2 separate regions of the Homo sapiens genome follow, and region 1 is linked to region 2. The links are contacts of gene promoters, found by promoter capture Hi-C in human tissues and cell types (Jung and others, 2019). All regions are on one chromosome and are shown on one strand. Each heading gives the region's core, a stretch centred on a gene start or on the middle of the fragment in contact. The rest is flanking DNA. Distances are from core to core; before and after follow the strand shown.

The links. Contacts are between HindIII fragments. The study calls those that stand out against the background at their distance.
Region 1: a contact is called between a fragment that was not itself captured here and the fragment with the promoter of BCL7B in region 2, in 1 of the 25 tissues and cell types used here (aorta).

What each region holds. Positions count from the first base shown.
Region 1 is chr7:74,186,818-74,190,781 of GRCh38, reverse strand. It overlaps EIF4H (eukaryotic translation initiation factor 4H), which reads right to left. Exons shown (of 7, transcript NM_022170.2): 2 at 2,984-3,171; 3 at 1,045-1,109; 4 at 864-960; 5 at 476-535. Among named protein-coding and RNA genes, the nearest start is that of MIR590, 2.4 kb to the left of the region's middle. The HindIII fragment of the contact is 6,566 bases long and covers 1-3,964 here.
Region 2 is chr7:73,556,363-73,560,029 of GRCh38, reverse strand. It overlaps BCL7B (BAF chromatin remodeling complex subunit BCL7B), which reads left to right and starts at 2,340. Exons shown (of 6, transcript NM_001707.4): 1 at 2,340-2,543. The coding sequence starts at 2,452. RefSeq lists silencers at 2,065-2,304, 2,355-2,464, 2,485-2,534, 2,555-3,004. The HindIII fragment of the contact is 6,991 bases long and covers 1-3,667 here.

The DNA of each region.
Region 1 (3,964 bases), core at 208-2,707, 630 kb before region 2:
GAAAGAGAACGGCGAAGTGCATCAGGTCCACCATCAAGGGACTGGACCTCCCCACAATCCTCCAAGAAAAAAAAGGGCCATCAGGACTACCTTTCACCATGTAAGAACCCAAACCTCTATCCTATGTTTTCCAGAAGGAACAGTACTTCTCTTGGTGCCATACACAAAACCACAGAGGAGTTTCCCTGGGCTAGAGTCTGAGAAAGACTGCTGAGCGAGCTCAAGGACCCAGGCCCGTACACATCCAAGGAGCTGCAGGCTAACAAAGGTGACCACACAAGGTGCATGGGGCTCAAGTCCTGCCCCCACAGGCTCTAACAGAGGCTTACTTGCATGCCTGGGCACCCTGCAGGAGAGTTGTATTTGTTAAAGGAACTAAATAAGTAGTCCGGCCAGGCGGGCTACTCGTAAGAAACAGAGAACAGCAGCAAGGCTCCTAGGAAAAATTAAGTGGTGATACTTTAAATACTGATACCAGAATTGAAGTCATCCCGGGAATCCCATCCACCTCTAGATTCTCGAGAGCTACCCATTCCTGAGGATACACAAAAAAGATAAAGTTGAGGTCGTGTCATTACCTTGCTGCGCAAACATGGAAAAATTCATTTGGAAGACATACAACTCAAGTGATGGAAGGTTCAATGAAATCATTTTAAGAGCTTTTGCTTCCAACAGAAAACAAAAAACGCCAGGCTTGCAGAAGCATCAGCCATTCTTTCTAGGATTTTACGCAAACTTTTAAGAGCTCACGAGAACCTATCACACCTATGAGATAATCGAGTTCTACTAGGAACGTTCACGAGTTGGAATTGGTAGGCATACTGCAAATCTTTATGATGTTCAGCTTTAGAAGAACCAATCACCTCTGTCATCTGGTCCACCTTTTCTGAATCCAAAGCCACCTTTATCTTGTTTTCTGCCTTCTGCAATGTCCACACGAAGTGACCGATCGCCCAACAGCTAATGATAAAGGGAAAATAGTGTAAGTATTGGCAAAGAAAACAATCTCAACTGCTATGACAGAGAAAACCCGAGGATACTTACTGCACCATCGTATGTCAAGGCTTCCTTAAGGGAATCCACTTCATCGAATTCTACATAGCAGAATCCTGGAAAAGAAAAGAAGACCCCGATTTCCTCAAGTAATTCTGGGTTAAAGATGTGGGAAGATCCTATTCATACTACTTCTCCACGTCACAACTACCATTCTGTTGTCTAGATGATGGCAGACTAGGAGAGCCTTTCAATAGATAGAACCCTGACTGGCATTCCTCCCTCTCAATTCTATTTTATCAGTCAGAAAATGCTAACTGAACATGCACTGAAATAGCAGCTGCGTTTCTAGAAAGCTTTCTTCTTGAATGTTTTAACCATAATATTCAAACCTTTCTCAGGCCATCTGCAGAGCTCTTCTGACTTCTGAATGACTATTTAATCTAAGTGAGGATTAGATTTCGTAGATTTCAAACTTGGTACCTAAAATGCTCTGAAGAAAGAGGCTTAAAGTGCCGATTTAACTTACTACTCAGGTAACTGACATAAAATTTGCTTCACAAAGCTGAAAATATATCCTTGGCAATCAGGGCATTCTTCTCTGAATGTTAATTAAAAGACAGGCAGCCTGGGTCCAAGTACCTGTTACTGACAACCTGTGTCCCTGATGCCAGGGGTCTGACATTGCCCCTTCCTTGCTGTCTGGAGTCTAAATCTAGTTCATTACTCCCCAGATGCTGGCACTACACCCTGCATCCCCTCTCCCCCAGCGTCCTTGCCCTGTGTATAATAACTTAATAATCACACTTCATCTTTGAAGCCCACTAGACCGCAAGTGCTCTAAAGGCCTGAGTCCAAACTTTCCCTGTTTACCAACTGTGTGTTAAGAACATACTGCCTTGGCTGGAGGGATGTCCCCCCAGGTTTCCTCCCTAAGTGGATTCAATGTTGAGAATAATGGAGAAAACTACCCCCAACTTCACAGAAGCAACAGACACCCAATCTCATCTTCTAGAGCTGCTCAAATGAAGATGGTCCTTCATGAGCCAAACTCCAAAGCCTGCAGCGACTGACCCAGCCCAAAGGCTAGGCTCACCCACACACTCCAACCCAAAGTTTAGTTCCTAATGCTTCCTGGAGCTTACTTCACAAGTGTAACTGATATATTTGTTTTCACTGTTTGATTACACACTACATGTGGCTTCAGATTCTGAAGTCAAAAAGAGTAAGAGTGCCACCGACACACAAAACCACCCAGGTCAGCAAGGCCTTCTCGACTGCTGGCACAGCTCCCCGCCCCAAGTTACCCCATACTTGTCACAGATGTGCTTTTGGGTGGATTATGCGGGCCAAACATCCTGGGTCCTAGCATCGTGCACTTACACAGCAGGCACACTTCCTTCAGGAAGCCCTGCAGGCAGGAGAATGCTGCTCGGATCCCTTCTTCTTCCTGCTCTTTGCTCCCGCACCCTGCAGACACACGACCTATAGACACCATATCTGAAATCTCAGCCAGCCCTCCCAAGCACACTCTCCAAATTTACAAATGCATACTGACAGCACTGGCTGCTTCTCTTCTGGGTTTTATGATTACTGGATGACAGTACCATATGATTACTGGATTAACTACCAAGGAAAATCTACGAGTCATTCCAGGAGGAATGTGCCTAAGAGTCCTCGGCTCTATTCCTCTCTCTCCTGGGGAACTCCTTTACTGGCAGACAGGACTGCTGTAGAGGTCAGGCTCACAAACCTGGGCATATGCCATGTATTTCTATGAACTACACTGTGTACAAAACATTTTCCCCTAAGTGAACTGAAGACCTATGAGTTGAAGAGTTATGTTTCTTTCGGCCACTTAGACCAGGCAAATGTTTAAAACACTTTCTTGATTACAGCCTCTGGTTCACAAATCTATTTTTATTTAGAACCCCTTCCCATCCTCCCCTACACTTTACAGTAATATACAATAAGAATCCCCCAAACTCACCTTTAAATTTATCTGTGTCTTTGTCTCTGACTAGCCGTACACTCCTTATGCTGAGATCCTTAAAGATAGCATCTATGTCGCCCTGAACCGTATTGAAAGGTAGATTTCCTACGTATGCTGTGTAGGGGGGCTCTGTGGGCAACTCCTTCTGGCTACGGGAACCATGGCCACCAGCACTGCCGCGGGACCTAGGAGGGGAGACAAACAGGATTCAAGTGTGCCCAGAGTGGAATAAGCAAAACAAGTAAAGCGGTCTTCCGCTGAGCTACGCCGCCAGCGCCCCAGGTGAGGCACTCTGCTCGATGTACCACAAGACTGTTACAGAGAATGGCTGGAGAAACAAAAAAAAAGGAAAAGAAAAATTTTTTGAGACAGACTGTCACTCTGTCACCCAGGCTGGAGTGCAGTGGCACAATCTTGGCTCACTGGAACCTCTGCTTCCCGGGTTCAAGAGATTCTCCTGTCTCAGCCTCCTAAGGATGCTGAGATTACAGGCATGTGCCACCACACCTGGCTAATTTGTGCATTTTTAGTAGAAACAGGGTTTCACCATGTTGGCCAGGCTGGTCTCCAACTTCTGACCTCAGGTGGTCTGCCTGCCTCACCCTCCCAAAGTGCTGGGATTACAGGTGTGAGCCACCATGCCCAGCCCAAACGTAACACACCTTCCTAAGACAACTGCTTCTCTCCTATTCACTCAGAATCTGTATCTGCAGTATTTACATCCTAAAACCTAAGCAAGTACCCTCCTTCACACACCGTGGTTCTAAGAAATACAGAAATGGACAGTCTAGAAGTAATGTTGTATTCAGAAGAAGGATTACTGAAGTTGTTTACGTTTAACACATTCATACATAATAGAATTATTTCTCCTACCGCTTGAACCTGGGAAGCGGAGGCTGCAGTGAGCCAAGATCGCACCACTGCACTTCAGCTCACGCGACAGAGACTCCGTCTCAAAAAAAAAAAAAAAAAAAAAAA
Region 2 (3,667 bases), core at 1,091-3,590:
AGCGTGGGTGACACCTGCCTGCAATTGGGTGGGGGCAAAGAGGACAAGAGCTTGCACTGGATTCAACATTCATGCAAACATTTATTGAGCATCTGTAGCATCTGTGAACACTGCCCTGGGAGTAACAGCACCTACCCTATTTTTAGAGGTCAGCTTCAAGATTAAGGTTGTCATAACACCTCTTTTTTCTTTGCTGCAGACTAGGAATAAAAGCCATAGCATCTTACACCTCCCCTCCCCTACTTAAGCTGGCATTTATCAAATAGCATTTTACTTATTTGTTTAATTAATTTATTTTTTCCAAGATGGAGTTTTGTTCTTGTTGCCCGGGCTGGAGTGCAATGGTGCGATCTTGGCTCACTGCAACCTCCACCTCCTGGGTTCAAGCGATTCTCCTGCCTCAGCTTTCCAAGCAGCTAATTCTGTATGTTTAGTAGAGATGGGGTTTTGCCACGTTGGACAGGCTGATCTCAAACTCCTGACCTCAAATGATCCACCCACCTTGGCCTCCCAAAGTGCTGGGATTACAGGCGTGAGCCACCATGCTCCGCCTAGGCTAGCATTTATCAAATAGCATTTTAAATATGCTTTGGGAAGCTGGACCCAGTGACTCACGTCTGCAATCCCAGCACTGTGGGAGGCCGAGGAAGGAGGATCAATTGAGTCCAGGTGTTCAAGACCAACCTGGGCAACATAGGAAGACCCTGTCTCTACCAAAAAAAAAAAAAAAAAAATGTCAGCGAGGCATGGTGGCCCTCGCCTGTGGTCTCAGCTACACAGGAGGCTGAGGCAGAAGGATCACTTGAGCAAGGCCCTGTACCAAAAAATAAGTAAAAGTAAAAAATAAATATTTTTTTTTCGTCTGAATGTTCTACTAAACTGGAAGCTCAGCCAGTCACAGTGGCTCATGCCTGTAATCCCAGCACTTTGTGAGGATCCCTTGAGACCAGGAGTTCAAGACCAGCCTGGACAACATAGTGAGATCCCCTCTCCACATGAATAAATAAACTGGGCCGGGTGCGGTGGCTCACGCCTGTAATCCCAGTACTTTGGGAGGCCGAGGCAGGTGGATCACGAGGTCAGGAGTTCAAGACCAGCCTGACCAACATGGTGAAACCCCATCTCCACTAAAAATAAAAAAATTAGCTGGGTGTGATGGCGGACGACTATAATCCCAGCTACTCGGAAGGCTGAGACAGAAAATTGCTTGAACCCGGGAGGCGGAGATTGTAGTGAGCCGAGATCACACCACTGTACTCCAGCCTGGGCAAAAGAGCGAGACTCCGTCTCAAAAAAAAAAAGGCCAGGCGTGGTGGCTCACGCCTGTAATCCCAGCACTTTGAGAGGCCAAGGCGGGCAGATCACGAGGTCAGGAGTTCCAGACCAGCCTGACCAACATGATAAAACCCCGTCTCTACTAAAATTACAAAAATTAGCTGGGCGTGGTGGCACCCGCCTGTAATCCCAGCTACTCAGGAGGCTGAGGCAGAAGAACCGCTTGAACCCGGGAGGCGGAGGTTGCAGTGAGCGGAGATCACACCACTGCACTCCAGCCTGAGTCACAGAGCGAGACTCCGTCTCAATAAATAAACAAACTGGAAGCTCTTTGAAACCAAAACCACGTATGTCTTCAGCTTTAGGTACAGAGTCTTGCACAAAATAGACATCTTTTTATTTATTTACTTTAGAGACGGGGTCTCGTTTAGACATGGGGTCTCCATATGTTGCCCAGGCTGGAGTGCAGTGGCTATTCACAGGTGCGATCATATCATAGCTGACGGCAGCCTCAAATTCCTGGGGTCAAGTGATCCTCCCGCTTCAGCCTCCCAAATACTTGGGACTACTAGATACTCGAGAAAAGGCAAGAATGTGGTCTGAATGCTGGGAAAGCAGTTCATCTGGTAAAGAGAGGAGGGGATTCCAGGTGAGGAACAGGTGTGTGCAAAGACCGGAAGCCATCCTTAAGAAAGGCGTGGTTGGAGCACAGCGTAGGAGCCAGAGGGCAAAGGTGCTGGGCAGGAGAGGCGGGAGGACAGAGATGGCGCAGGAGTGCGGTTCCACAGGGTCAGGTTCCTAACACGCTGGCCAGAGCAGGGAGCCGACCTCCAAACTCTCAGGGAAGAGAACCAGGTTGCCCACCGGCGGCACCTCGCACCTCGCCCTGACCACAAGCACGTGCGCCCAACCCGCCTCGCACCCCGGCCCGGGTAGGGGGCTCAGGGGACTCCCGGGGCACTCAGGAGGGACGCCCCGGGCGGGGCGCGCAGGCGCGCTGAGGCCGTGAGCCCCAAGGGGCGGGCGGGTGCGCGCGCTTTCTCGCGCACGCGCGCACGGAGGGGGCGACGGCCGCTGTGACGCTGCGGCGGCGGCGGGCGGGCGGCGGCGCGTGAGGCGCGCGATCCCCGGTGTCTTGGGAGCAGTGCCCCGGCCCCCGCCGCTCCCGCCGCCGCCATGTCGGGCCGGTCGGTCCGGGCGGAGACCCGCAGCCGGGCCAAGGACGACATCAAGAAGGTGATGGCGGCCATCGAGAAAGTGCGGAAATGGTGAGGGGCCGGAGCTTAGGGGGCTGGCGGGGGTCGCGGATCCAGGCCCTGAGGAGCGTGGGACTGGCGGGTCAGGTGGGAGCCGACCGGCCGGCGCTGGGGGAGGGGGGTGCGGGAGAAGGCGGGAGGAGGGCGCCGCTGGCGTCGGCGTGAGGTCAGAGGGCGCGCCGGCCGCGGCCAATCAGCGGTCCTCCCGGCTCGCGGGCCCGCCCACCTGCTGCGGCTGCTGCCGCGCGCCGCCTGGGAGGGGATTCCGGCTTCCGGCCCGGACTGGAGCTGCCTGGCGTCGGTGCCCGCGCCCGGCCCAGCCCGGGGCCCGCCCTCCCCTCTTCCTGGGCAGTGGCCCCGCCTGCGTTTCCAGGCTTCCTCTTGATAATAGCGAGTAGCCCTGGAGTGGTGTCAGCCCGCCAGGCTGAGCGCTCTGCGTATTCAGGCGTTGAAGTTGGGTGAGTTTCTGGGTTAGTCCATCTGTCAAGGGAGCAAGCCTGGTGTCATCCAGAGGGATACCCCTCCCTTTCCCCCAGTAACCGGCCCCTGCGCCGCGAGCTTGGTAGGCATTTTCTCTTGCTGCCCCGGCGGCTGTCAGGAGAGTCCTTTGCAAACTATGTACCAGCCTCCCTCTAATTTCCCTGCTTCTGCTCTTGTTCATTCCCCAGTCCGTTCATCATTTGCACTGTGTGATTTTATTTTTCTCACTTCCAAGTAGCAGAGTGGTCTTTTTAAAGTGCACATCCTTACTTGGGAGGCTGTGGTGGGAGGATTGCTGGGACCCAGGAGTTGGAGGCTGCAGTGAGCTATGATCGTGCCACGGCACTCCAGCCTGGGCTACGGAGAGAGACCCCGTGTCTAAAATGTTCATGGAAGATGCCGATTGAGCCCCTGTTTAGTATCCGGAACTCCGATACATACTATATCGGTGTGTATCGGAGTCATCACATTAAACTTTCACAGCCAACTTCGTCAGCTCTTTTGTATAGCCAATTACTACTAATAATTTAAAAACCCAGGTCTGGCTAGGTGAGGTGGCTCAGGCATGTAATCCCAGCACTTTGGGAGGCTGAGGTGGGCGGATCGCTTGAGGCCAGGAGTTTGAGACCAGCCTGGGCAACATAGTGAGACCCCGT